Regions from separate parts of the Homo sapiens genome. Here all the other regions are linked to region 1. Evidence: promoter capture Hi-C in 16 types of primary human blood cells and fetal thymus (Javierre and others, 2016). All regions are on one chromosome and are shown on one strand. Each heading gives the region's core, a stretch centred on a gene start or on the middle of the fragment in contact. The rest is flanking DNA. Distances are from core to core; before and after follow the strand shown.

Evidence for each region. Contacts are between HindIII fragments. The CHiCAGO score rates a contact against its expected background, and 5 or more counts as called.
Region 2: a contact is called between a fragment that was not itself captured here and the fragment with the promoter of USP8 in region 1, in 1 of 17 cell types (naive CD8 T cells). The highest score is 5.8, in naive CD8 T cells.
Region 3: a contact is called between a fragment that was not itself captured here and the fragment with the promoter of USP8 in region 1, in 1 of 17 cell types (fetal thymus). The highest score is 6.4, in fetal thymus.
Region 4: a contact is called between a fragment that was not itself captured here and the fragment with the promoter of USP8 in region 1, in 7 of 17 cell types (fetal thymus, total CD8 T cells, activated CD4 T cells and 4 more). The highest score is 12.1, in fetal thymus.
Region 5: a contact is called between a fragment that was not itself captured here and the fragment with the promoter of USP8 in region 1, in 2 of 17 cell types (naive CD8 T cells and total CD8 T cells). The highest score is 6.3, in naive CD8 T cells.
Region 6: a fragment that was not itself captured here is called in contact with the fragment with the promoter of USP8 in region 1 in 2 of 17 cell types (fetal thymus and naive CD8 T cells); the score reaches 6.6 in fetal thymus.

The regions. Positions count from the first base shown.
Region 1 is chr15:50,421,548-50,426,261 of GRCh38, reverse strand. It overlaps USP8 (ubiquitin specific peptidase 8), which reads right to left and starts at 1,857. Exons shown (of 20, transcript NM_005154.5): 1 at 1,748-1,857. RefSeq lists enhancers at 1,610-1,999, 2,038-3,034 and a silencer at 2,110-2,159. The HindIII fragment of the contact is 13,730 bases long and covers 1,309-4,714 here.
Region 2 is chr15:48,802,800-48,807,513 of GRCh38, reverse strand. CEP152 (centrosomal protein 152) reads left to right here. Exons shown (of 27, transcript NM_001194998.2): 2 at 1,858-1,951. The coding sequence starts at 1,865. Among named protein-coding and RNA genes, the nearest start is that of CEP152, 5.9 kb to the left of the region's middle. RefSeq lists an enhancer at 1-18. The HindIII fragment of the contact is 2,862 bases long and covers 1,306-4,167 here.
Region 3 is chr15:48,859,709-48,864,422 of GRCh38, reverse strand. The region is part of intron 6 of SHC4 (SHC adaptor protein 4); the gene reads left to right. Among named protein-coding and RNA genes, the nearest start is that of EID1, 16 kb to the left of the region's middle. The HindIII fragment of the contact is 1,015 bases long and covers 1,863-2,877 here.
Region 4 is chr15:48,876,658-48,881,371 of GRCh38, reverse strand. The region is part of intron 4 of SHC4 (SHC adaptor protein 4); the gene reads left to right. EID1 (EP300 interacting inhibitor of differentiation 1) reads right to left here and starts at 3,238. Exons shown (of 1, transcript NM_014335.3): 1 at 1,199-3,238. The coding sequence starts at 3,195. The coding sequence ends at 2,632. RefSeq lists enhancers at 2,984-3,283, 3,554-3,663. The HindIII fragment of the contact is 1,047 bases long and covers 2,181-3,227 here.
Region 5 is chr15:49,142,564-49,147,277 of GRCh38, reverse strand. COPS2 (COP9 signalosome subunit 2) reads left to right here. Exons shown (of 13, transcript NM_004236.4): 2 at 2,200-2,313; 3 at 2,974-3,051. Among named protein-coding and RNA genes, the nearest start is that of COPS2, 11 kb to the left of the region's middle. The HindIII fragment of the contact is 904 bases long and covers 1,875-2,778 here.
Region 6 is chr15:49,235,704-49,240,417 of GRCh38, reverse strand. GALK2 (galactokinase 2) reads right to left here. Exons shown (of 10, transcript NM_002044.4): 4 at 4,477-4,567; 5 at 1,051-1,197. Among named protein-coding and RNA genes, the nearest start is that of GALK2, 68 kb to the right of the region's middle. The HindIII fragment of the contact is 2,742 bases long and covers 1,261-4,002 here.

The DNA.
Region 1 (4,714 bases), core at 608-3,107:
TTTTCATGGAGAAAAGTTCGTAATATAGTGCTAGACTTATGAAAAAAATTTAATGTACTGGCTTTATTTTCCAACTGTCTTACCCAAAAGTCATTTTGATTATTTTCCATTATGTCCACGCTTTTTATTTTTTATTTTTTGAGACGGAGTTTTGCTCTTGTCACCCAGGCTGGAGTGCAATGACGCAATCTCGGCTCACTGCAACCTTCGCTTTCCAGGTTCAAGCGATTCTCCTGCCTCAGCCTCCAGAGTAGCTGGGACTACAGGCGTGCACCACCACGCCCAGCTAATTTTGTATTTTTAGTAGAGACCGGGTTTCGCCATGTTGGCCAGGCTGATCTCGAACTCCTGACCTCAGTGATCCGCCCACCTCCGCCTCCCAAAGTGCTAGGATTACAGATGTGAGCCACTGCGCCCAGCCACGTCCACATTAATAAACAAATGCCCATAAAGATTAAAGTCCAAGTAAATATATTAAAAAACGAAATGCTAAAAAAGGCACCTTTAAAACATTTTTGTTAGTTTTTCTTATACATTGTTTTCTTAAAAAAACAGATGTCTATGTGCAAAATTTCATTAATGAGAGGTGTATTTTTTTTTTAAACTACTACAGGGTCTTCACTAATATTAAAGATGCATCCAATGTGTCACAAGAAAAGGAATACATATTTCAAAGCAGCCATATCAACATGATAAAGACATAACACAACCGATATCACCTTCCAGATATGCTTAATAGTCCAGGGATATGCTGTAAGGAGAAACTACCCAAATCCATCATGAATGACATTCACCAACGAATCTTAAACAGAATCGGCTGAAATGCAAAAATCTGCTTACATAGCAAAGCCGCAGCAGAGCAAGCCTAAAACAGGAATACTTCCTTAACAAATACCACTTGGCATTTTTAATGGCTGCAGCAAGATATTTACAAAACTAACGATGCTTTGCAGATTCAGAAAAGGTAACATCCTTTAGATATAAATCCCTTTCATCTGAAACCCTCAGGTCTCTTAACAAATACTAAATTCCTTAGGCTCTGCAACACCTCCGTGTCAGGTAAATTTTTTGTTAGTGATTAAGTGACTTGTTCAAGGTCACAGAATGAACTGGAGGCAAGAAATAAACCCAGGAGGGTGGTCTGCAGCTTTATAATGCACATCACTGCTAGTAAGGATTCTGATAATTTCCAAGGTGGAGTGGCGGTGAAATTAACTTGTCCCACAACTCTAGGATGGAAGGCACTTTTTAGGGGAAAAAAAAAAAATCTTCTATTTGAGGAAGTCATAGTTTTAACTCTGACAAGCTTATAGGGTCTTTAAACTCAAACTTCACTAAAATCAAGTGTGACTGGGGAAGAAGAGAAACTGGGAAACAGTTTTAGGAGCTACAGTAAGGCCTGGGATTGTAGGCAGATTGCAGAAAAAAAAAAAAACCGGAAGCAAGAGGAAAGAGGTCAAAGTCGGGTATAAGTGTCCAAGAGAACGGAAGATTGGTCAAAGCCACCTTTTAAAACCAAAAAAACACACGAAACTCGCTTGGCAATCCTAGGTAGATGGCGTAAAAGACTCAAGGTTGGGCCTTTCCTCTCCACAAGCTGATTCTACCTTTAGGAGTTGTCCCACTCCTCTCCGCGGACAGAGCTTGTCTCCGGGGTAACCAGCAGCTGGTGGAAGGAAAGGCGTTCATCGTTCACAGCGGACGACTTCCCAGAGAACAGGTGCTAGGGCCCAAGACCCGCACTCACCGTGACGCCGGGCGCGCTTCACTAACGCCAGCCTTCTCGCCAAATGCCCATCTCCCAAGAACTCGAGGGAGAATTAGCCTTGGCTACCAGGACGGAAGCCAGCCCAGCTCACCCCCTTTTCCCGATTTGCATTGCGAGGCGACGCGTCGCGTCTCCAGACGTCACGGCAGGGGCGGGGCTTCGCGTGCGCTCCCTTGACTCCTCTCTCTTCCACCGCCCTCCCCTTTTCGGTGAGGGCCGCGGGGCGAGGGATGGTCGAGGGAGGGTCGAGGAGGACGTTATGGGTGGGCGGTGGCGGCAAGGGCGGGGTTTCTCTGAGTCGGGTCAACATAGTTGGCCGGTCCCTTACCCCCCGCACTGCACCCTGCATTTCCGGGTTGCAAGGCGGCGCCTGGGCCTTGTTGTGGAAGAAGCAAGGTTGCTCTTGCGTCCCTTTACTACGTTATTTTCCTCCTCAGATTGGAAATTAGAAAAAAGGGGATTTAACGCCCCTCTATTTCTGGCTAAACATTCTCTGAAGCCAAGCCTTTGGTCAAAGAAAAACAAGTATTATCCTAAAACATATTTTATGTACAATTTTTAACGTCACTTAAAAGGCCCCGGCGAGGCTGGGCACGGTGGCTCACGCCTGTAATCCCAGCGCTTTGGGAGGCCGAGGCGGGCAAATGATGAGGTCAGGAGTTCGAGACCAGCCTGGCCAACATGGTGAAACCCCCGTCTCTATTAAGAATACAAAAAATTAGCTTGGCGTGGTGGCGTGCGCCTGTAATCCTAGCTACTCCAGTGGCTGAGGCAGGAGAATTGCTTAAACCCGGGGAGCGAAGGTTGCAATGAGCCGAGATCGCGCTACTGCACTCCAGCCTGGGCAGCAGAGCAAGACTCCGTCTGGTTGGGCGAAGGCCCCGTGTAATAGAAACGAAATGAGACGTCTGAACTTTCTCGCGAGCTGATCTTTGTACTCTCTTAGAGAAAGGTGATTGGATGCTCCGGTTGCCTGTAAACATAAAATTGACTTGGGTGGAGCTTTAGGCAGTAGTCACTAAGTCCTCAGGAACATTCCAGGTGTCTCAGGGATGGGAAATCTGGCTAGCGAGGTCTAGTAAATGCTTTAAGTGAAAGTGTGTGCCACATGGTACAGTGTACACTGCTCGGGTGATGGGTGCACCAAAATCTCAGAAATGACCACTAAAGAACTTTTCCATGCAACCTGTTCCTCCAAAACTACTGAAATAAAAATTTTTAAAAATAAAAAAGGATAAAATAAAGAAAGTGTGTTCAATGAATTTGTGATGAAGGCCAGGTTGCAGTGGCCCAGGCCTGTAATCCCAGCACTTTGGGAGGCTGAGGCAGGAGGATCCCTTGATCCCAAGAGACAGAGACCAGCTTGAGCAACAAAGGGAGACCCTCATCTCTACAAAACAAAAATTTAAAAATTAGACCGGGAGCGGTAGCTCACGCCTGTAATCCCAGCACTTTGGGAGGCCAAGGTGGGCAGATCACTTGAGGTCAGGAGTTTGAGACCAGCCTGGCCAAAATGGCAAAACCTGGTCTCTACTAAAAATACAAACATTAGCTGGGCATGGTGGCGCGTGCCTGTAATCCCAGCTACTGAGGAGGCTGAGTCAGTGAATCGCTTGAACCTGGAAGGTGGAGGTTGCAGTGAGCCGAGATCGTGCCACTGCACTCCAGCCTGGGCAACAGAGCGAGACTCCTTCTCCAAAGAAAAAATCTAAGTTACAAATAGGATTTCCATTTTCCATAGAATCTAAAACTCCCCAAATTGCTGTGAACTACAGCAGTATTTTCTCCATTTGGTAAGAGACATAAGGACAGCTTAACTACCCTTCTTTATCCAAACTAAGTCAAAAACAGAACCCAGGTTTCCTGATTCCCACTCCCAAGTAAAACTAAATAGGTTTTATGTATGTTGCAGCTGTTGCACCCTTTTCCTCTTTGAAATAAAACTTTTCTATTTCATTGGGGAAAGAAAACATGACTGAAAGTCCAAAATGTGGCCAGGCGCGGTGGTTCATGCCTGTAATCCCAGCACTTTGGGAGGCCAAGGCGGACGGATCACGAGGTCAGGAGATCGAGACCATCCTGGCTAACACGGTGAAACCCCATCTCTGCTAAAAATACAAAAAATTAGCCAGGCGTGGTGGAGGGCGCCTGTAGTCCCAGCTACTCAGGAGGCTGAGGCAGGAGAATGGCGTGAACCCGAGAGGTGGAGCTTGCAGTGAGCCGAGATGGTGCCACTGCACTCCAGCCTGGGCGACAGAGCAAGACTCCATCTCGAAAAAAAAAAGAAAGTCCAAAGTGTTAGCTTAGAGCTCAAAACACTAGCTGCTGTTTCAAGGTCCAGGACATTAAATCCAGATGAGGGCCTTCACCTTTGACACCTGCCCTCGAGTCCTTCAGACATGTTGAGAGAGACTGAGACAGGGGTCTTGCAGGGTCAGGCAGGAAGGAGAAGCACAGCAATATACATATATAATATACATAAAACTGATTAGATTTGTTTAAGAGTGGTGGGGATTAGGGCCATGTGGAGAACTCATGGCCTGTCTACATTGTTGCCATGTGGTAATGGGGCAGAGTATTGCCAATTTTCTGATTTTCTGTGTGTGGGAAAAATCTCCAAACTGGTTTTTAAATTTGGGGAATATATATATATATATATATAACCCATATACATACGGATTATGTTAGTTGACAACAACAGTATACATAAAAAAATTTACAAACACTGCAAAACAAATAAAATCCAAGCCATCCATTTGTGACCATAGTCATAAGCATTAACTTAGCCAGGGGCTTTTAGATAATTCTCTGTTAAAGAGGAATTCTGAGAAAAGACTAAGATAACCAAAATGAACATAATGTCAAAGAATGAAATCATGGGAACAATTTGGATTTTGTTCCAAAGTCAAGTGTTTTTTAAAGAATCTTTCCATACTTCATGTTTTG
Region 2 (4,714 bases), core at 1,487-3,986, 1.6 Mb after region 1:
GCGCAATCTCGGCTCACTGCAAGCTCCGCTTCCCGGGTTCACGCCCTTCTCCTTCCTCAGCCTCCCGAGTAGCTGGGACTACAGGCATCTCTTTTAAGGACATAGGATTTAATTGGGCTAGTATTTTCAATATATATAGTGTTCTGTAGAATATTAAGTCTATTTGCATAGTGGAAAAAAATCTAGAGACATGAGATTGTGTGTTTTTCCCTCACCATTTCATGTTACAGGCTTTTTATCATATTCATATCTTCATCTTATGTTGACATACAAAAGGATTCTTATAGATAGATTTATTTTCCTCGATATGCATGTCTCTTCCCCCGTTTAGCCCTGTCACAAGGGTAGAAAGGAATAGGTGTGGTCTGAGAAGCAGAGGCTGGAGGGTTTTAAGTTGAGGTATAGTCTGAGTTGATATGAGTTTAAAGGGACGGGTTGGGTGTAGGGACCAGAGAGGAAGGGATTAGAAGGTAGACTGCAAATTAGAGGTTGGCCAAGAAACATAACTCAGTCTTTGAAAAACAAAAACTTGTCATAGGGGGATTTTTACCACTGAAGTTCATATGTATGTTAATCTTTAATACCATATTCATCTATTCTAGCTTGCATATTTTCTTTTCACACTTTAATATCTACAACATAGACTGCGTCCTAAAATTAATGTTATGTCATAATTTGATTGGCTACATCTCGTTCCTACTGCTACAAATGGAACTGCATCATAGAATCAAAGACATCTTAGATCTGATGAAATGGGATATTGTCTGCTCTAGAGCTATTGGCTTCCACAAAAGTTTGTGATATAGTTCGTATCTGTTAAGACGAGGGAGCTAAGTTCTCTATGGTAAAATGCATTTGGATTGCTGGGTCTCCATGCTTCTGATTTTACTTCCAATTTAATGACATTTTAGAGCTTGAAAGGTGTAGTGAATGAGTTGTGGCTCAGGCTCACATCCAAGTGCGTTTCATTGGCATGAACAACAGTGGACTGAATGGAGGGCAGTGTTAGGCCAGGTAATTGATGACACCTGCCTACTTTTTTGTTGTGATTGTTCAGAGCTTTGAAGTTCTGAGGAGTTTATGTATAGTGTCAGGATCCCTAAGTACAAGTTAAATCAGCAGCAGCTTTTTTGAATGTAAGTAGTTGAAAACCCATTTCCTGCTGCTGCTTCTGCCGCAGCAGTCACTGCTCCCCAGGGAACTCTTGCTGTTGCTTTTGGAATTGGAAGTCCACAGTGGTGGAGCTTCACAGCCTTCACTTCTGTTTTTCCCGAGTATATTGCCAGAACCTGATTTTATCAAGCTTAAGAGGAGGACATTTAAGACTTATATTTTGTTGTGCACTCTATGGCATTGACTGAATTGTAAATGGTTTCTGGGTAGTAGTCATTCACTCATGATTTAGGGGCCTTCTTCTTGTAAAGCATGATATTTGGATTTCTGATATTAAAAAAAAATGAAGCAATAGGGTACTGCCTGTGCCATGTTTAATATATCACATTTGAAGTTTTGTTTGAGCTTAAGATTTTTACATTTGGCACATTTCTAGTTTATTATTATTGTCATCTTATTTTTCATGTCGGCAAAAATCTTACTGTTTTATACTCTTCAGACCACTAGAAAGGTCTATTCATAGCTTTATTACCTATTTGCATGTTTTCTTTTCCATGAATTGCTGTCATATAGCTATTTTCGGTGAATCACCATTATTTTTATTGGCCATAACTGAGTTATACATATTTTCTCCCAGTCTGTTTCTGTCTTTTCACTTTGTGTATGTATGGCATCTCTTATGTAGTTTGTCCTGGGGAGATTTTATGTGGTGTCCAGAAACCAAACATCTTTCCCTTCCCACAGGAGGACCATGTCATTAGACTTTGGCAGTGTGGCACTACCAGTGCAAAATGAAGATGAAGAGTATGACGAAGAGGACTATGAAAGAGAGAAAGAGGTAAGTTGTTAAAAAAAAAAAAAAAAAGAGACACTAAACCCAATCTTTAACAAGTTTTATTTCTTGATCAAAATTGTATCATCTTGTGTCATTTTGAAGGGATTTGGATTTTTTAAAAAAAAAACAACCCTAAAATCTGCTTGCTATTTAGACTGAAAAGGTGAATAAGTGGAATGCTTCTGTTTTTGAGACAGGAATAAAACACAACTGTGAATAATACCATCAGATAAATGGTTAAATTTTTCTTTTCATTTAGGAGGTAATGGTTGGCTTTGGAAGTGGAAGGTTAGTTTCTAGGTGCTTGAAACATTGCCATGAACAAGTCTGACAAGGCTCTTTGCTTTGGGTAGTTTACATCCTAGTGGAGGCAGACAATAAACAAGTAAACAAGTGAGTAAAGTAATTTGAGTGAGTGATAATTTATCATTGATAAATGACAGGGAAACAAATTGGAGTGCTATGAAAGCAATTGATAGGGGATTGCTGTAGATGGGGTGGTGAGGGAGGGTCTGTGGGAGGAGGCAATATATGAGCTGAGACTTGACTCATGAGAAGGAACCAGCCATGCAGAAGCCTGAGGAAGAGCAGTCTACGCCAAAACACCAATGAGTGTAAGCTGGGAAGTTGGGAAGAGACCCCGTGTATGCCACAGATCATGTGGAGCGGCCAGAAGGCCATGGTATTGGGTATATATGAGCCAGTGTTGGGTGGTGGATGTGGGTGTCAGATCATGGAAAGCCATGATAAGGTGTTTGTATTTTATTCTAAGAACAATGGGAAGCCAGTGGAGGATTTTAAGCAGGGAAAATTGATATCATATTTTTGAAGATCTTTCAGAAGGCTGCATGGTGAATAGATTATAGAAGGAAAGGAATAAAAGGGAGAGACCATATTATTTATATGTAAAGTGTTTAGCAGAATTCTTGGCACATAGCAAATGTTCAGTAAATGGTGGCAATAGTAATAGCAGCAGTAATAGTGTTATTGGTGGAAGTCAATTTAGTTGTTTTGGTTGTTTTTAGTGTAAGTCAAATTTCTTGATTGTCTGTGATAAAAGGCTTCTTTTGTCCTGACGCTATTTTTTATATGACCCATTTTCTAACATGTAAAAAAGTCTTTTTTAATAGTTATTGTGGACCATGAGTATTAACAGGAAGCAAGGAATAGGGTCAGTTGACCATTGCTCATGTGGCTGGTGGTAGAATTAAGGCAGTGATAGAAAACTGGCAACTTGCTGGATTTGGTTCAGACAGGTATTGTTGGTTGCAGAGTGCTTTTAAAAAATTGAATCTGTATTTGAAGATGGGAAAATTTTATGCAGCACTGCAGAGTCTCTGGCTTATCTAAAAAACATCCAAAGCCCTGGCCACACCTGGCCTGTATTTGCACATGGCAGCAGGCGGGCTGGAACTGAGCAGTGGCTCTCCTTCCCCAGCTGGCCACAGTCCCCACTTCTCACACAGACATGGGCTTATGCACTCAGACCTGCCTGCTTCACTCTGGTAAATTCTCTGCCAGGGCCCTGAGGGCATTTGAGTTTATGACCCTGGTGAGGGTTTCCGGATTTTGGCAGGGCCCCTCACAACAATTGTGGCAAGGATGGGAATGAGGATTTTCTGTTACTTTGAACCTGCAGCATGAGGTATTCATGACTGGGCTTGGATAGTTGGCTGGGGTTTAGCCACTGGGATTCTTGAGAAGGTCAGTTTAAATAATCACTACTGTAAAGAAGAAAAAATATTTTGACAGGTGATTTTTCATTGAGAAATATATTAGAGAGATAGGTCTGCCAGTGTATTGTGTGGTTAAAATTTTAGAGGGGATACTAGTTAAGGAGGCAATTAATTCTAGATAATATAGAAAACAGCTATTTGGGATCACCTCTTTGATAGATTGTATGCTGGGATAGGGAATTTCAGGGGAAAAGTTGTTCTTGAAAGATCAAGTATCTAAGAATGAGTATTTCTAGCAGAGTGGAAGGATATATAGCTGAATTGACTCTAACATGATGATTATGGTTAAATTTGTAAAAAACTTCATGTTAATAAAAATATTTTTACTTTAAAAAATAATTGCTGCAAGGGAAAAAGTGAGATGAGAGGCTAGAGAGGTTCAAATTTTAGTAACAAACTTCGGAACTGTTCACAAATCTTCAGCTGTATGTATACTTTGTCACTACAAGTTAAAGTAATAAATTGGGTGGTCAAACCCAAGCTTGAATGCATATCTAGAAGGTTTTTTTTAACTGTCTCAGTCTTCCTGACCCAGCAATAGCCAAATGGTTCACAGCCTTAAGAGATTAAAGAAAAAAAGCTGTTTTATCCTGTCTACCTGGTTGGTAGCTTTGGGACTGTGGCTTTGGGATTGTGGCTAGGTTATAACTGTTAGCAGTGGGCTAATGCATATTGCTTTCTCTACTTAGTGAATCACTTTGTGTTCAAGTTGCTGATGTGGGAGGAATGCCTTTATCCCTGATGATGTGCTATAAGGCTTACCAGGCATACCACATCTGACTCATAGTCTACCCTGCTAAGGGTTTGTGAGAGCCTGTCTTGGTACATGGTTGGATAGTCCTGATTTTCACTGCCTGGGATGAAAGGCTAGTTGCTAATACAGCATGTTTTTCCAAGCTGTGTTTAATTTTGTTGTTTTGGTGCCAGTTGGGATTTTGTCCACATGGGCCCATATCCCAATGAATACACCATTCCAACCTTCATGCCATCCTAATGAGCAGCTTTACAATTATGATTTTGCTTTTTCCAT
Region 3 (4,714 bases), core at 1,121-3,620, 1.6 Mb after region 1:
TATTGGAAAGCAGAAAAGCCACCTGGAATGATAGAATTCAATTTAGAGGACATCTCATTAGTCGTGGGCAGCAGTGTAATGTTCTAAATGGCACTGGAGGAGGAAGGAAGAGTTTGGGTCAAATTTGTGAACTAATAGTACTTGATGACTATTTAGATATTTAGATTGATGGAGAAATAGGAATCAGATGTTCCTGAGGATTTAATGAGATATCATATGCAATGCAAACATTTCAATACCTGGCTTATAGCACCTAGGCAGTAAATGGTAGCTATTATTACTATTCTGTGTGATGTGGAGTGATGTTGCCACTAAAGAAACAGAAATTCTCATAAATAGAATAAACAAACAATCTAATAAAAAAAATAGGCAAAGAAAAATGGCTACCATTTATTGCATGCTTACTATGTGCCAGGCATTTTCAGTACTCCATCTGCATTATCTCATTTCATCCTCACAGCAGCCCTAGGGAGTATGTAAACATATCATTCCTTTTTTTAAATAGAAGAAAACACTGGAGGTGAGAAAAATAAGGCGGTTTTCGTAAGATTACCCAGCCATTAAGTGGATGGACAGATTCTACGTCCTGAGCACACAAAAGAACATGGCAAGGCACCAAGAAACATTTGAAAAATAAAAAAGTTTAGCCTCACTAGCAATCAGACACACAAATTATAATTAGACATCATATTTCATCTCCAAATTTCAAACATTGAAAAAAGATAAAATGTGGTTTCGAGTAGTAGTTATTCTTGAACACTGCTGATAAAGAGTTTAGATTCAAACATTTTAAAGAGCAATTTGATCATTTGCATCAAACATCTTAAAAATGTAAATGCCTTTGAACCAGTAGTTTTATTTCTGAGGAAATAATTAGGATACGTACAAAGATTAAGCAATATAGATCATTTTTGTATATTATTTATATCATAAGACAAAATTTAGTATTCATAAGTAGCAAATTAAATAAACTCATAGAATGTACTATGATGCAGCAATTAAAGCTAATAGTAGAAAAATAAGTAATTATATGGGAAAAATATTCACAATGCTGTTAATGCAAAAAACATTATGAAGATTGTGTATAGTATAATCCCAGGTGACTTTTCTGGGTAGATACGCATTATAAGAAGATAGGAAAGACATATGGCAAAATGTTCCTAGTGGTTATTGAGATAACCACTGGATAGTGAAATTTTCTGTAATTTTTATTTCTTCTTGGTGCCTTTTTGTTTTCTAAAACTCTTACAGTGAATATTTATTACATTTATAAAAAGAAAAAATATCCAAAACCTTTGAATAAATGTTTTAAAATAATGAAATCAGAAAGCTGATGTTATAAAATTAACTAGCAAGTTTGTTTCATCCAGGAGAAAATGGCAGACAAGAGAAGCCCAGAGAGTAGGTCTGGGGCTGGGGGTGGGGCTGGCAGGGAGGGGAGGGAGGCAGGCCAGGCCTGCAGGTGCAGAAAAAAACTGCAACTTCTTAGCAGAACCTAGAAAGAAGAGGGCTAAGGATGTCAGGGAGTGGGGGAAGCCACAGGAGACAGTGACTTGCCTAAGGAGTAGTCAGGGGACAGGAGGAAGTCAAGAAATGAGTATTACCTAACAGAGGGGAAGAGCAAGGTTCTTCTGAAGGAGACATCTCAGATGGTCACACACTGAAAAGGAGTTAAGGGGCATGAGGGTGGGAAGATGCTATTTCGCCCAGCAATTAACAGGCCACTGGTCACTCTGGAAAGCTCAATTTTTGTACACCTAGAAAGGCAGGAGCCAGATTGCAGGGATGAGGAGGACAGTATGGTTGACAGGAAGTGGAGATGAGCAGAGGAGACTGGGCTTCATGCTGACAATCCCGAAGCTTCCCACTCTTCCTTTTGCTTGATTCGCTTTTAGCATTAGTGCATTTAAATCAGGGCAGTTCCCACTTTTTCCATCTTGGCTAGGACCCTTTAGTGAACTCTTCATTTTATCAAAGGCCTTTTTTATAGAAAAGGTTAAGTTCCAGTAAGAATGTTTTGAGTTTAGTTAGTGATTAATACACCCTGCTTCTGTAATTGCTGTAAATGAGGAAATCCACATTGTCTTACTCCAAATGTGTGGCAGTCCAGGAATGTTTTAATATTTTCCCTGAATCTAGTCTGTGAATAGGACTGGACTGCTTGGACTACCTGGATATAGGAAGGCCATGCTTCTGGGTCTCTGAAGAAAGTTAAAAAAAAAAAAACCCCAAAACCAGTAAAACCAACTTAAATTAATCCACTTATTTTTATTTATGTTTATAGTTATAAAGTATGCCTACGACTGTCCTGGTGGTATTAATTAGCTATGAACTGAATACTGGCTTGCCTCTTTGAGGTTGTTTCTTCCTAAAGTATGGAGGACTCCCTGCTTTGATCCCATAGCACCATCTGGTGGTTGACCTGAAAAGCTGAACTTTTGAATTTCTGGTTTTCTAAGTATAAAAGGAAAAGACAGAAACAAAACAAAAAAACTGTTTATTAAGAACAAATATAAAAGTAGTAAAGAAGTGTCTGTTATCCTTTAGTAATAGTTGTAATCCTCTTGTTTATGACTACCTAATTCAATAACCAAATAAAAAAGACAGATGAATATGTATCTCAGGTTCTTTTGAATCTTAGTTTAGTACTTGATACCCAGGGCTGGAAGTGTGAGCCCATCCTGCTACAGGTGGGATGAAAAAAATCCAGACTTTCATCTGATTCCAGACATGGGAAGCAAAGCTCAGGCCTTGGTAACAAAGTTACCATATCCCTGAAAAGGCACCCTCTTTTTTGTGACTTGGCTCTTTTTATATATAGTTACTTGTCTTTCTTCTTTCCCTTTAGCTGAAAATTGGGCAATTCTTGGCCAAGCTTTTGGAATTGGTTTTAATCCTGGGAAATGGGCATATTTATATGTGATTCAAGGCCCACCTCTATCCTGTCCCATGACCAACCTAAAAAAGACCATTTCCATAGAGCAACATAGCATGTCTATGAGAGGCAACAATGGAACTGTGAAAGTACATGTGCTCCCTGAAGGTGGTGAGACTGGGCAGAACATCTGCATGAGGTCAGTCTGTTTGTCTGCTGTTGCATCTTGCCTGGAGACAGACAGACACCACTGTTTGTTCTTTTATTTTTGTCCAGTCTTCTCAAGCTGGGTGTGTTGGGGCATGCCTGTAGTCCCAGCTACTTGGGAGGCTGAAGCAGGAGGATCACTTGAGCCCAGGAGTTCAAGTCCAGTCTGAGCAACGTAGTGAGACACCTGTCTCTATAATAAATAAAGTAATATGGTAGTAATAGGCTAATCCAAAGAAAAGCAGAAAATTATGTTGATAGCATCAGCCTATGAACAGGACCCAAACCTCAAAGCATCAGAATCAGAAAAGTTGAGATAAATAAGACATTCTAGAGGTACGCCAGAAGCGTTAGAGGCTGGTTGATGTGTCTGATTGATTCATTCATTTCTGTGTACCCACATGCCGCCCTGTTCCTCAGAGACTTTGAGCTTCCATGACAGAGGAAGAATAGGGTTTCTGTAAAACAAAAAGACTTCAAAGATGACTCAGGACATTGTCTTGGCAGACAAGGACCTTGCCATAAAGTGACTTGTTCAAGGTCACATAAGTAGTGGCATAATTGGAACTTGAACTCAGATCTGAATCTTTTCACGGAGTTCTTTTAAACATCCTATTCTCTCATCGCCCTCACTGGAAGTACAATTTAGCTTTTCTTATTTATTTATTTAGGCTTAAGTATCCTGCTTCTCTCATTATCTTCCTCATCTTCATCTCTCAACATCTCCTCAATCCTAAGAAAAAATAAAATTGCAAAAATTGTTGTTTCCATTTTGATATGACTTTCTATTTTGACTTCATTTTTATTTTTATTTATTATTATTATTTTTATTTTTGAGATGGAGTTTCACTCGTCGCCCAGACTGGAGTGCAATGACGCCATCTTGGCCCACTGCAACCTCTGCCTCCCAGGTTCAAGTGATTTTCCTGTCTCAGCCTCCCAAGTAACTGGGATTACAGGCACCTGCCACCATGCCCAGCCAATTTTTTTGTATTTTTAATAGATACGGGGTTTCACCATGTTGGCCATGAACTCCTGACCTCAAGTGATCCACCTGCCTCAGCCTCCCAAAGTACTGGGATTACAGGCGTGAGCCACTGCACCTGGCCTTGACTTCATTTTTAATTGGACTGGGAATTTACGAGATTAAAAACAAAAGGATTACCTTTTCTTTAAAAAAAAAGTATTTATTTGGTTAGGTTGCTAGCATATTAGTGTTAGGAGATATTTTATCATTTAAGCCATACTTGATATTATGTAAGCTCTCTCTCTCTTTCTTCCTTTCTTTCTTTTTTAGAGACAGGGTCTTGCTATGTTGCCTAGGCTGGGGTGCAGTGGCTATTCACAGGTGTGATCACAGTACACTAGAGCCTGCAACCCCTGGGCTCAAGTGAACCTCTCTCCTCCCTCCTTTAAGCCTCCCAAGTATCTGGGACTAGTGAATTACCTTTTCTTATAATGTAACACAGCTTCTCATGGCTCAACTGGAGGATACATCTCCAAGGGTACTTTTTAGGTCTCCGGATATGAGGCCTGACTAGCAAGGAGGAGACTATTTCCACAAATCACCTAAGAAATAATTTATATCACCTAGTAGCTATAAGAACATGTCCCATTGCAGGGACTCACTGC
Region 4 (4,714 bases), core at 1,455-3,954, 1.5 Mb after region 1:
TGTTTTTTTGTTTGTTTGTTGGCTACATAGGTCTATAGGTCAAAGGCTCCCAGATCTTTTACTTTAAAAAAATAATAATAAAAAGGTAAGAATCTAGATTTTTAGCTGCTGTCTCTGTACTGAGATGTTGGTCTCTTAAAATTATAAGCATGAACCAAACAAAATAGATCTGTGGCCTGAAGACAGTCAACATGGGATATCTGATCTAAGCGAACATTTATAATATGTATGGATAAATTTGGAAAACTCTCCCTAATCACACCGTGTACTCAAAATCTTCTTTAAATCCCCTACCTTGCAAAATCAGAATTTCCCCAGAACTCCTTTCTCTAGCTTCCTTAAATGAAGACACACACACACACACACACACACACACACACACACACTCTCACACACATCATCATTTAGTCCTCACAATTTGTAAGGTACATCCAATTGTTCCTATTTTCAGTTTAGGACATGAGCCAGAGAGATTAATTTCCCAGTTACTGAGCTAATAAATAGTAGAACCCAAATTTTAACCAAGTAGTCTGGTTTGTCTGTGGCAACTGCATGTAAAAGAAACACAAATAATTTTACACCCCTAAAAGGGGTGTTAAAATGTTTTCTATCCTCAATAAATACAAGTAAGTATTTACAATTTTCATTGTCTCTCAGCTTACTGCCTATTTTTAAGACTGAAAAACAACCAAGTCAATTGCAGAGCCCAGGTTTTTCTCCCCAAGATGGGCCTTCAGATGGAATAGTGTTTCCCACCCCCACCTCTTTGCCCTACTCAGTCCCAGAGAAAAACAGAATCACAACCTTCTAGTTTGTGGACCTCAGATTTTTTTTTCCAAGAGTTTATCTTTCCTAGTAAAGATAAACTTTCCTGGTAAAGATAAAGATCTGGAGGTAAATACAACCAGCCAGTTTATTGTGCACTAGCATACCCCCACCCACACTAATTTACATCATCCATGCAATTAATTACCTATCCACACTCATCTGACCGTAGCTGCACGCTAATTGAGAAAGCAGTGGAAGAGGCAGTAGGATTAAGTCTAAGCACCAACATTTTACTTCCACCATCTCTCCCTCCTAACCCAGCTAGTGTCTGAGCAATTCTGATCAGCCTTGTCACAGTCCTATCTTTTACAGATCTCTCTCCCCAAAAGACAGGATGACCATAAAATAAATAAGGCTCTGAATTGTCCTGTTGCATTGGATATTCGTTCTTTACTGCTATAATGGAGCAGAAGCATTTGGAACATTTTTACTGATCATGATAAAACCTGCTGATACACTTATTTTGCTGAACCTAGCCTTCTGATGTAATCATTACTCTCCTAGAACTTCAGCATCTTAGTAAGGTAACCACGGCAACATACTCATTGATAGGGCAGGTTTTCCCAGACCAGCAAATTCTTATAGGCAAAAACTTAATTTACAAAGTTTAATTTCCAGAAATTAATTTGTGAATTAGATAGCTGAAGCTGGATCATTTTCCCTTAATACTGGTTAACACATACAATAGAAAGTAGTATACAGAGAAAGTATGTATGCAATACTATTAGCCAAACAAAATACACAGAACAAGAAATTTTATTATCTCCAATGCTGGTGCATGACAAATAACAAGCTTAATTAGAGGAGGAGACAGAGGGAAACTTCAGATACCAAGGTAATTTCTGGGCAGGTTTAAAACCTTTAAAAGTTGATAGAATAACTGTTCATAAAGTCTTTTTAGATATAGCGCTTTTTACTTGACAACTTTTATTAACAGTTCTTACAATATGAAGTTCAACTAAAGTCCTTCATCTGTCAAGTTAAAACAGCAAGCAAAACAAAATTTCTCTAGTATATAACAGCATAAGCAATGGTTTGTTTTCTTTGTACATTCACACACATTTAGTGTCTAGATTTGAAACTTTTTAATTAAGGATGTCTTAATTTTTGACTTTTAAAAATGGTTATGACAATGGATTTTCTTGATTTATAGATCACAGTGGCTTTATAAATGATCAAGATACATGTACAAACAAAATTTCAGATGCTCTTGGAAACACATCTTAAGATACAAAGCACACGTGATACATATTTGAGTTTACTCATCCATTTATCTTACACTGAAAATGTAGCCTTTGATAACTGTGGCTTGACTAGATCACAAAATAGAATTTTCCAAGTTTTCTTAAGCTTTCAGTCCAAATAACTCAAAAGATATGTGTCCTAGTTGGATACATTTTTTTCTCATTATATAATTAGTATCAGTGGGCTTTTGTATTGGCAGTTTGTCTTGGTCATGACTTATTCTTGCAAAACCATCTTTACAGCAAACAAATATGAAAGATATTTTCCCCAATGCAAGGAAAATAATCTGGATCAATAACAAAGTCAAAGCCATAGGTGTTTTAGGACGTTCTTGATAATTGATTTCAACGGTCTTAAAATCTTTTTTCTTTTTCTTTAATGATTCTCTTCCTTTTTCACAACTGTGCAGTCACTGTCCTATTGTGTTCTATTCTGAAAAACAAATTTTTTTGAAGGTCAAGTTTTTCAATGGCACAAAACTATTTGGAATGAACCCAAAAGATAGCGGAAAGTTGGGTCCCTCCTCAAGTAGTTTCCTCCTCTTTTAACAGCATCTAACTACTCTCTATCAATAATCTCATCACAGCCGAGTTCTTCGGTCAGACGATTGACAACCATCAGTGAAAAAAGCTCTTCGATAAAAGCTAACTGATCAAACGGGGTCTTCTCATAATGCATCTGAAACCCGCCATCCAGGGCTGGTTCTCTTGTTCTCAGAAACATCTTGTCGGCTTCTTCAAGAGCGGCTGATACTCTGTAGCCGGCACCACTGAGCTGCTCCTCTTCGGGATAGTCGTAGTCGTCCTCCCAGTCATCAAATTCCTCGCCCTCGTCCTCGCTCTCGAAGTCTGCGCCCGCCACCTGGCCTGGCTGCTCCCCAGCGTTGGGCCCGTTAGCAAGGCTCCGTTTCCCCTCTGGCGCCGCCATTGGCTGGGCCTCCTCCTCCTCCATTGGGCCTTCCTCCTCGAGCTGTTGGGCCCCGCTGCGGGAGGGACGCAGGGATAGCTCCCGGCTCCCGCTGCCTACCTCCATCTGCGGAAGGTCACCCTCGCCAGGCATCACATCCATCTGCAGGTCACTGCTCTCTTCATACAGCTCGGACAACTCAGCCATTTCCGACATTGTGCAAACCGCTCAACCTCTAGGAAAAAGCTTCCAGCAAGACAGATGCTGCGCGGCCGTGCGTTCGTGCGCGTGCGCAAAGGCTGCGCGCTTGCGTAACCCCGCGCGCAGGCGTGGTCCTCAGGTACCGCCTCCTACTTGGCGCGCCACTGTGGTTGGAGTAGCTCAGTGTTTTCTCCGGGGTGTTGGCGTCGCCTTTTGAGCTACGTTTCCATCGATTCGAACTTCGTATCTAGGGACCCTGCATGCAAGAGCGTAACAGTTTCTGTGTTACTTAACCCTACTGCTGCTTGTAATGCTGCAAACCGGAAAATAACCTTACATGGCCTTCGTAACATTTAATGCTCCTTCCCCCCCTTCCTCTTCCCCTGGGCAATTTACCGATGTACTGATGACTTGTAAATCCACGTCTCCAAACCAGACAACATCCATAACCACAGATCAGCATATTAAGAACTAATCCATTTTGTCCTTTTAGTGTTTTCATTTAAAAAGTTAAATTCACAAACAACAGATATATTGTACTTTTTTTTTTTTTAGTTATAGTGAAGAAATACTTGGTCCCATTTCTTTTCGCCTGGGAGGTATCTTTCCACTATTAGCAATGCGGTGTGTATTCTTTGAATTCTTTTTATTTGCATTTACATGTATCTTTATGTATTGACAGCAAAATACTATTTTGTGTGTTTTTTAAAAACATGTTTTACCTGTTTTTACCTTCAACTTAAAAGCCTCAGGTTTTAAGTTGTATATACTTATATGAATTATATGACTGTGTATACTTACAGGATTCAAGCACATTTCATTTATTCTGCACTTTATTTCTATTATTATTACATTATAGTTATGTAGAATTATACAACTCACCATAATGTAGAATCAATGGGAGCCCTGAGCTTGTTTTCCTGCAACTAGATGGTCCCATCTGGGGGTGATGAGACACAGTGACACCCGAGGTGTGTTCCTTATGTCCGGTCTATTCTGTAATCTCATTTTGGTTGCTGTTACTGTGGAAAATCCTGCCTCACAAAGATAGGATGTTGAAAATGGAAGGAGGCTTTTCAGTACTTTTGTGGCAATCTCAGGATGTTCCGCCTTGACTTTAATCGAGAACGTATGGAGATTTGAAGTTGTCTCAAACATACTTTTAAGGCCACCGTCATTTGCAATATCAAGCAGTTGATCCTCTTCTAGCGTGGACAAAGTGGATTCACCTGGCTTATTCACAAATGGGTCACAGATCCATTCCGTCTTTTGTGGATGAGAAGTGTGATGGTTAATACTGAGTGTCAACTTGATTGGATTGAAGGATACAAGTATTGATCATTGGTGTGTCTGTGAGGGTGTTGCCAAAGGAGATTAACATTTGAGTCAGTGGGCTGCGAAAGGCAGACCCACCCTTAATCTGGTTGGGCACAATCTAATCAGCTGCCAGCTTGGCTAGAATATAAGCAGGCAGAAAAATGTGAAAAGAGAGACTGGCCTAGCCTCCCAGCCTAAATCTTTCTCCTGTGTTGGA
Region 5 (4,714 bases), core at 1,077-3,576, 1.3 Mb after region 1:
TGCAAAAAAAAGTAATTTTCTGGTTCAGCAAGCTATTCCTCTATCTTATTCAACACTGTTAAGTGAAGTTTTTATTTTAGTTATTGTATGATAAATCATATATGGTAAATCTGTTTATATTTGTTCCAACTTAATAAAACAATTAGAAAAGAGCTGATTTCCGAAGGCATAGAGTAGGTTTTATAGCTGTGATTCTTTACTCCAAGTCTTCCCTAAAGAATACCCTTAGGCTGAGATCTGAAATGATAAGCAGTAGTTAACTAGATGAAGAGAGGTAGAGGTAGAGGTGGAAAGAGAGAGAAATAGCACATAAAAGTGGGAGAATTTGGCACTTGTTGAGTTAAGGCCAGGATGGCTGCAGCAAAGTGAATGAGGGAGAACTAGATAGGAGATAAGGTTGGACACAGGAGTCAAGTTTTGCTGATTTTGCTCTCGATTTTAAGAGGAATAGGAACCATTTTTGAGGAGAGGAATAAGATAATTTACATTTTGTGAAAATTATTTCACCTGCTTAACCATGAGGATATTAGAACTTAAAAAGGAGAATGAGAAGGCTGCTAAAGTTTGTGGAGAGATGAAAGTAGTTGGGTAGGGTAGGGTGGTAGCAGGCAGGGGGTTCGGGAGTGGATAGATTTGAGATTTATTTTGAAGGTAGAGTCAATAAGGATTTTTATGTTCCAACAAATAGTTACCTTTCATTGTTTATGCTGTTACTACGTGTACTATTCTCTTTATCCTCTCCTGTTTTGTCTAGTGGGCAAACTTCCATTTATCTTTCAAAACCCAGGTTTGAAGCCATCACTGTCACAGCATCATTCTGTGTATGGTTGGCTTATTCATTCTTTACTAATTTCTCTTTTTTTTTAGCTTGATCAGTTTCTTTGTAGTCAAGCCTAGATTACAAGGGTTAAGAAGTAAATGAATAATTATGAAACTTATTTACTACCTAGTTTCATCTTGTCCCTAAAAGAAGTGTTCCAAGTGATTTTCATATGTTAAACAGAATGGAATTCCAGGTCTTAAATCTGTAAGACTGACAGACTCAGGTCTTCACACGAGGAAGGAATTATCCTCCAGAGGGCGCACATTACAAAGCCACTCTTGATTATTGAAAAATTCATCTTGTGTTAATGTATTTTTGAGCTTTCAAGTAACTTATTATACACAGCATACCTTTCTTCACTCCTATGCTTTTATGAGACTGTAACAGAATTTTTCATAAATATCTCATAAAGAAATTTGTTACCTGTATTTGGATTTAGAAATAACTATAAAACTATTCTTGTCTTTTTGTGTTTGTTTCCAGGTACTATTCTTAATTTGATATAAACTTGCCCTTTGTAATGACTTAAAGCTGAGAAGGAAATAATCTATATCTTATGACTCATAAGATAATAATTTCCATTATACCAATCCATGTGTATTTTGTAATCCTCATTATTAGGTTGAATGTCCTGGAACTGTGTAACACTCTTGTTTATACTGCTCCACAAAATAGTTGTTTTATTCCAGTTTTCCCTTCTGCCTTGTTTTTTTTCCACTAAGAATTGAACTCATGTAATAGAAAGTCTCATAAAATTATATAAATCCATTTTGTTTTATTTATTTTGATTTGTTATAAAGCTGATTAAGTTAACATTAGTATAAACAGCTGTTGTATAGTGCACATAAGGAAAGTATTCTTATTAACATAATTATATTTAGTGCTAGATGACTTTGCCATGTGTAGATTACCATCCTAGCTGGTTTTAAACCGTGTTACAATAATGAAATTTAGACTTGGGGAATAGAAAAATTAGATTACAGAACCAAAGATTAATAATTAGAACACATCTACGTTAGGTTTCCCTCAGATTTCATGACTAACGAAAGCTTAGCAACTACAGAATTGGGGTCATTAACCAATATTAGGTTGCATTCTTCTTTTATGTTGATTCTATAGAAATTTTAGCTTTCATCTGAAAGAAAGTAATGATTATATTCTGCTATACACTTGATTTTGACTCCTCCTTCCTCCTCTCTTCAACCCCTGGTTTTATATAACAGTTGAATATCAGTGGCATTTTACGTATGTATTCAAGGTTGTTTTGTTTTGTAAAAATATGTGGTTTTTCTGTCTTAACAGCATTCACTTTTTACGTTGCTACGTGTGGGTTTCTTTTCTTTTTTTCTTTTAATATTTCTTTCTTTCCAACACAGGAATACTCTGAAGATAGTAACTCCGAGCCAAATGTGGATTTGGAAAATCAGTACTATAATTCCAAAGCATTAAAAGAAGATGACCCAAAAGCGGCATTAAGCAGTTTCCAAAAGGTTTATATTCTTTTCCATTTGATTCTATGTGTTAATTTTTTTAATGATATGCTAGAACAAATAAGTCCCAGGTGATTTTATCTCAGAAATGTGTTTTGAATACTTAATTATCCTATCAGTTAGCATTAGGCAGCACAAGCAAGTGTTTCAAAACGGTTATCCTGATGTTTTTTCCAATCAAGCTGTCTATGGAGCAGGGCCATTGTCCTGAAAAACTAGGATGGTTCTGGCAGAAGAACCACCAACATGATGGTCAGTAGGTATTATCACTGCAATCTTGTTTCTTTTAGGGGTAAATCATACAGTTGTGGTTTCATTATTATGAATAGCTTGATTTCTTGACTTACTGATACACTTACGGATTATTTTTACCATAGGTTGGTTATTCAGGGGAAAAAATATTTCAGAAACTATATAATAATCAAGAAGTGGCTCTTTATTTTGCTGATGAAGGAACTTTAAGCTTGCTTATCCTTATGTAGGCATCTTACAACTTGTTTTTTTTAAAGACTGAAAAATGACATTGAGAAATGGTGGTATCCTTGGGGAAATGTTTTTTATGCATATAGTATAAAATTAATTCAATACTTACACATTGGGCATCATTAGAAAATAATGTGTTAATATTAAGATAAACTAAAAATTTCTTCCTCTTTTTAGGTTTTGGAACTTGAAGGTGAAAAAGGAGAATGGGGATTTAAAGCACTGAAACAAATGATTAAGATTAACTTCAAGTTGGTAAGATTTGTTTTGAGGGGAATTAAACTAATAAATTTTGTAGGTAAAAACCTCATCACGACAAAGTACTATTATATCTTCTTTTCTAAAGTACTTCTTTGGATGTGTTTTTATATTTAGTCTGCTCTGCAGTTGGGACTATAGTAATACTAAGTAAAAAAAACAAATTCTTCATAGGATACAGAAGTTTTCTATTTAAGAAAACTTACTCTTTTAGATGCATTTACAGTATTTGCCTTTTTTTTTTTTCCCCCGCTCTGTCACCCAGGCTGGAGTGCAATGGTGCAATCTTGGTTCACTGCAACCTCTGCCTCCTGGGTTCAAGTGATTCTCCTGCCTCAGCCTCCTGAGTAGCTGGAACTACAGGCACATGCCACCATGCCCAGCTAATTTTTTGTGTTTTTAGAAGAGACGGGCTTTCACCATGTTAGCCAGGATGGTCTCGATCTCCTGACCTCGTGATCTGCCTGCCTTGGCCTCCCAAAGTGCTAGGATTACAGGCGTGAGCCACCGCACCCTGCCAGGGCTGCATTATTAATAGATTGACTTTTCCACAAAGGATTAGTGTTTACTTTGGAGTTTTAAAATTCTCCTGTTTATTATAAAGAGTTTCTCTTCCATTGACTAGGGCCAAAACGTTAGCATTATGCTTAACTCTTCTCATTGTCTATTACCCCACAAATAATCCATTGGCAAATCCACATGGCTTTACATCCAGTATGACTGTGCTTACCATTTCTACCTCTGCTACTCTGGTCCAAGGCACCATGATTTCTTACCTGGATTATTGAGATAGCCTCTTAACTGGTCTCCTTACTTTCATCCTTACCCTGCTACAGTTTTCCACAAGTAGCAGAGTGATCCTTTTAAAATGTAAGTCAGATTATGCCATTCTTTTGCTCCATATCTTCTAGTGGTCCCCATCTCCCTTAGTAAAATCCAAAATTCTTACCATGACCTACAGATCCCTATGTAAGCTCATCCTTTGCTGCTGTTTTTATTTGCTCCATCACTGGCCTTCTTGCTGTTCCTCAAGTCATCCCAAGCACAATCCTGTGTAAAGGCTTGCACCTGCTGTTTCCTCTGCCTCAGAAGCTCTTCTCTGATAACCATATGGATTTTTTCTTCATTTGATTCAGGTCTCTGCTCAATGGCACCACTTATCAGGATGGCCTTCCCATGACCACCTGATATAAAATAGCATTCTTCCCATCGTCACTTAAATTTCTTCTTTGCTCTTTTTCTTTGCATATGTCACCATGTGATCTATTATTTATTGCTCCTCTTCACCCCACCCCTCCCCCCAAGTAAATTGTAAGCTCCATGAGAGCAGGACTTTGTGTTATTCGTTGTTATAATCTTAGAACCTATAATGGTGACTGTCATTTGGTTGGTGCTCAAATATTTTATTGAATGAACTCATAACTTATTCTAGAGAAACTGGAATTATGACATTATACTCAAAATGTCATTCCTCGGTTTCTTTAAACTGGTAAAGAATACAGGGTAGAAGCGGAGGGAAAAAGGATCAGGAGATGATAGGACTAGGTACAAACATGAATCTTAGATCACTAAAGGAGAAGAACTTTTGAGAGAAAGATGAAGTTGAAGCTCAGATGAGCAGGGAGTGAAGCAGTTGGAAGGTTCAGGAACTATGGCAAAT
Region 6 (4,714 bases), core at 1,382-3,881, 1.2 Mb after region 1:
CTCCAATGCCTTGAACATTATCTGGCACAAAATAGCCATTAAATAAATAATGGTTGAATGATGAACAAACAAATGAATAAATAAACAAATCAGATTGAAAATTGTACCAGGGGAAACACATTTTACACATGGACTTCCTGTCCCTTGCTTCTTCTCTTCTCAAAAAATAATAATAATATGTAAGCCCCCTTTCCCTCCCAACCAGTCATTGCTCACTAAGGGCTAATTAATGTACACTTACACAGGACAGCTAAAAAGAAGGATTCTGTCTGAACCTTTGCTTTCTCCTTCATTTCTGCCTTCCTCCTATACATAAAATTTTCAAACTGAAAGTTTAAACATGCTTAAAAGAGACTAAGCATGTGGCTGCCTTTCTCTTGATCTGTCCAAACCATCCGTAAACCTGGTAGTATATGTACATGGGGTAAAAAGAACCTATGATAACATTTTATTTGAACCAGAATGCTAAAGCATTAATTAAAGCTGAGCACACCTGCTCTAAACTGCAGAGTCAGAGATTTATGTGAACTTATAAACTTGAGGCTTTCTGACCTCTTGTACAATTTATATTTCCTTTAAATAAGCATTTCGTCTTGTAATGCAATATTTTAAAGTTTATTTCTGTGACTAATCTGCTGGCATATTCAGTTCCTTTATTACCTAGTCTTTACCCTTGTAACCCACTACTTGTCAAATTTTTAATTTAAGGTTTTGGGTGAAAATAAGCAGGCTCAACCATGAGAGGAAGAATTTCTTGCCCTAAATTTAACTTGTGAATGAGGTGATCTAAAATGATATCCATACATTCAAATCCCATATTTAATACAATGTATTTTTATACAGTTATTCACAGATCTATTCACTCACTGTTTGGAGGGTATAAGCTACTTTATAGTGATTTATCACTTGTTAAGTTACAATGCTTGCCCACATGTGCAGTCCTTTTAGAGAAGACAGTTTTTCAATCAAGGAAGGCATTCTGATTTGAGATTTGGATGCTAATGATTATTAGGAGAGGGTTCTATGAGGTTTCCTATCAAAGGTAGTTACCTTGGATAGATTCCTTCCCAGCACTGTGAGCGTCACCAAGCCAGCACAACAGACCAAAGCACTGGAGCTGGAGAGGCCAGAACTTGGTGGGATATTTCCATCTACCAGGCAGTTCATTCCAGTCAGGTTACTAAGACCAAAGTGTTCCTAAGAATATAAGGAAAAACAGCAACAGTAATTCAGTATTGAATTCAAGGAGTAGTGAAAGCTTCTTTCATTCCCCAGAGAACAAAAGTCTATCAATAGACTTATAATAGTTATAGAAACTACTTATGCAATTCAATTTAGTTGAGACTATATGTGACATTTTATTTAATGACTCTTAGCCACAGAGTAATTCCCTTAAATGCCTTTAATTTTCTTGCCTTGAATGTTCTTTTTCTTGAATATTAATTGATTTGAATATGGAAAAAATATAAAATTGCCTTGAATGTTCTTTTTCTTGAGTATTAATTGATTTGAACAAATATGGAAAAAATATAAAACAATTATAATCCAATTTGTCAAGTAGCAGGACAAGAAATATACAATTATCTGTGAGGTAATTTAAATCTCCATGCAGCACAACTCCAGCATTCTGTTATTATAAAAGTCCAGCCCCCAAGCAGTGACTTGTTTCTAAGGAGTGCCTTACTTTAGAAGGTTCTCTGAAAAAAAGGAGTTCCAAACATTCTCAGTTCTGTTTTACTTATGAAAAAACCTAGGCACCAAGAGATGAAGAAACTTTCCCAAGATGACACATAGGGAGACGAGAGTAGGGCCCAGGTCTCTGAATCCTGTTTGAAAACTTTTCCACTGCAGTTAGAAACCTGAGCCAGCAAACCGTCATTGTGATTTAATATGCCAGCTACATGAGAAAATCCAGATGCTTACTACAGTTTATAGATACAGTTTAGCCATATGGTAGCTTTAAAGATAGTCAAATTAGAATTCAGCCACAAATGAGAATACAGACCCTAAACAAGTTGAGGAAACTCTATTTCTACAAATAGGAAAGCCCAAAGAAATAATCAGATTCTGATTTAAATATGGAAAGCTCTAGTATACTTACATTACTTTCTAACACTAGGACACTTTGGATGATATCATATCATAACCTTTGTGGTTTAAGTTTACAAATAAATTCAAGTCTACCTCCTTCTCAAGAAAAAGTACCATAGTCTTTGCAAATTACTCAAATGACTGAAGATTAACATATGAAATACTATTACCTAATTATGCATTTCATCATACCTATTATACAAGGGAGAATTTCAATCAGCTAGCTAGAATAACTAAAATAACAACAAAATTCTGCAAATAAAAGACCTTTTTCCTTAATTTTTTGTCTGTCTGTCCTAGCTAGCAAAATTCTCGCACCACAATAAGAAGAAATTTAGCTGGGTGTACTTCTCTTCCTGATTTCAAGTCATCTAAAAATTTCCTTCCAGATATACAAACAAACTATAAACTGAAACTCTACTGTTGCCAATGCCCTTTCATACAGAATATCAGACAGCTTGTTTAAAAAAAAAAATTGAAGAATACAATATATTTAATATAAACTGATCAAACACAGGTGTCTTGAGTGGGAATCACACTTAAGAACTTATCAGCCGGGCGCAGTGGCTCACACCTGCAATCCCAGCACTTTGGGAGGCCGAGGCGGGTGGGTCACGAAGTCAGGAGTTCAAGACCAGCCTGGCCAATATAGTGAAACCCCGTCTCTACTAAAAATACAAAAATTAGCCAGGCGCGGTGGCAGGCACCTGTAATCCCAGCTACTAAGGAGGGTGAGGCAGGAGAATCGCTTGAACCCCGGGGGCAGAGGTTGCAGTGAGCCGAGATCACGCCACTACACTCCAGCCTGGGCGACAGAGCAAGACTCCGTCTCAAAAAACAAAAACAAAAACAAAAACAAAAAAACAAAAACAAAAAACAACGTATTATGCAATGTTTAAATGAAAATGTATAACAAATTCAAAATGCAAATGGGTATATGCCACATTCTGTAATAGCTCTATGCCAAAAGGATAACATGTTCAATGTAATATAAGTGAATTATTCTCTGAAACTTTCTAGTATTTGAATTTGAAAGTTTCTGAACAGGCTAGCATTTAAATTACCTTTCTGCCAAAAGTTCATTGTATAAGTTTGCTTTTGCACATAAATTGTCAAACCAAACAGGAAGGCTTTAAAACCTGAAATGCTCAAAAATAACACAAAGCAACATGCATTATTTAGGCCACTTTACCCATATGCTGCAAAAAGGCATGTTGTTACAAGGAAGATTAAAATTGCATTTGCCAGGCAAATGCTTCCAAATACTGTAATTCCCACTAATGCATATGATAAGCCAGATGATTTGAAGATTTAAAACCTGCCAATAACTTTTCCTGTAAGTTATTACCATGTGTCTGAGAGAAAGGAAAACACAAAAGAAAGAAAGAAATGAATTCATTAACTTTAAGAACAAAAACCACCACTGTTACAGTATAGGACTACACATTAGAAATAAATTTGATGTATTTCTGTAATGGATGTGCCACTAAGTCCTAGCTGCTCATTACAAAGTTTCAGATAGGACTGCCAGGCAGTAAGGAACACAAGCTCTCTAAAACATGGGTCAGTTTGTTTGTTTACTTTTAGCTCACAAAGGCAAAATTTACTTCTTATTGTCCTACTATGATTCTATGCAAGTCACTACATCTAAAATAATTATTGCAATATAAAAGTGGCTCTAAAAACAGCAAATATCAATTTTCTTTTGGTCCTTGATACTTTTTCAATTATGAGAGTGAAAACATTTTATTTTCTTGTTCTTGTATGTAACATTAGAGATTTTCAAAGTAATTATTCAATGTTTCTTGGAAAATACTTATACTAATACATTTCATTATATCTTTTTTTAATCCCATCTGAAGTAGCAATAACAATACTAGCTACCATTTATTAAATGGCTACCATCAAGCTTTATGTAATTCTTTTAACAACTCTTTGTCAGGATAGCAATGACATCATTTTATGGATAAATCTGAGACTTAAGAGGTTAAATTACCACAGCTGAGAAGAGCCCAGATTCAAACCTGGGCTGACTCTAAATCCTATTACAGTATACCCCTATACATCCCAAGTATAAATGTAAATAATAGTATTAAAACATATCCTCAAAAGTATGTTTAAACAAAGATTTTAAAACCAGACAGATGTTTGTCAGATGCACCTATTTATGAACAGCCAGCTGTATAAAAACCACTACTGCCCCCTGTGAACACCACCCCAAAACAGTCATATCTTCCCCACTCTCTGAAACACAAACTAGCAAAATAGAACAGAAGCATCGGTTAGTACTGTAAGGAGATGAAAAAGATGTAGTAAATAAAATAAATCTGACAGAATACACATGATAATCTCAACTGGTAGTAAGTGCCTTATAAACCAATTTACCTGAATTCCTTTAAGTCCACATAAGAAATAGTTGTGCCACAAAGGCTTGGTTTTATCAATCTGGATGTTATTAGCACTAGTACTGAAGTCCCTGCGAAGACAAAAGACACCATTAATTTAAAATCTGTAGGCCTTGAGCTGCAAAATCAATGGATGACTGCTGCCATCTTGTGCCAACACAGCGATACTGACTCTCCTTTACCTTTTATGTTCAAACTGTGTGTCTACAGCAAAACAT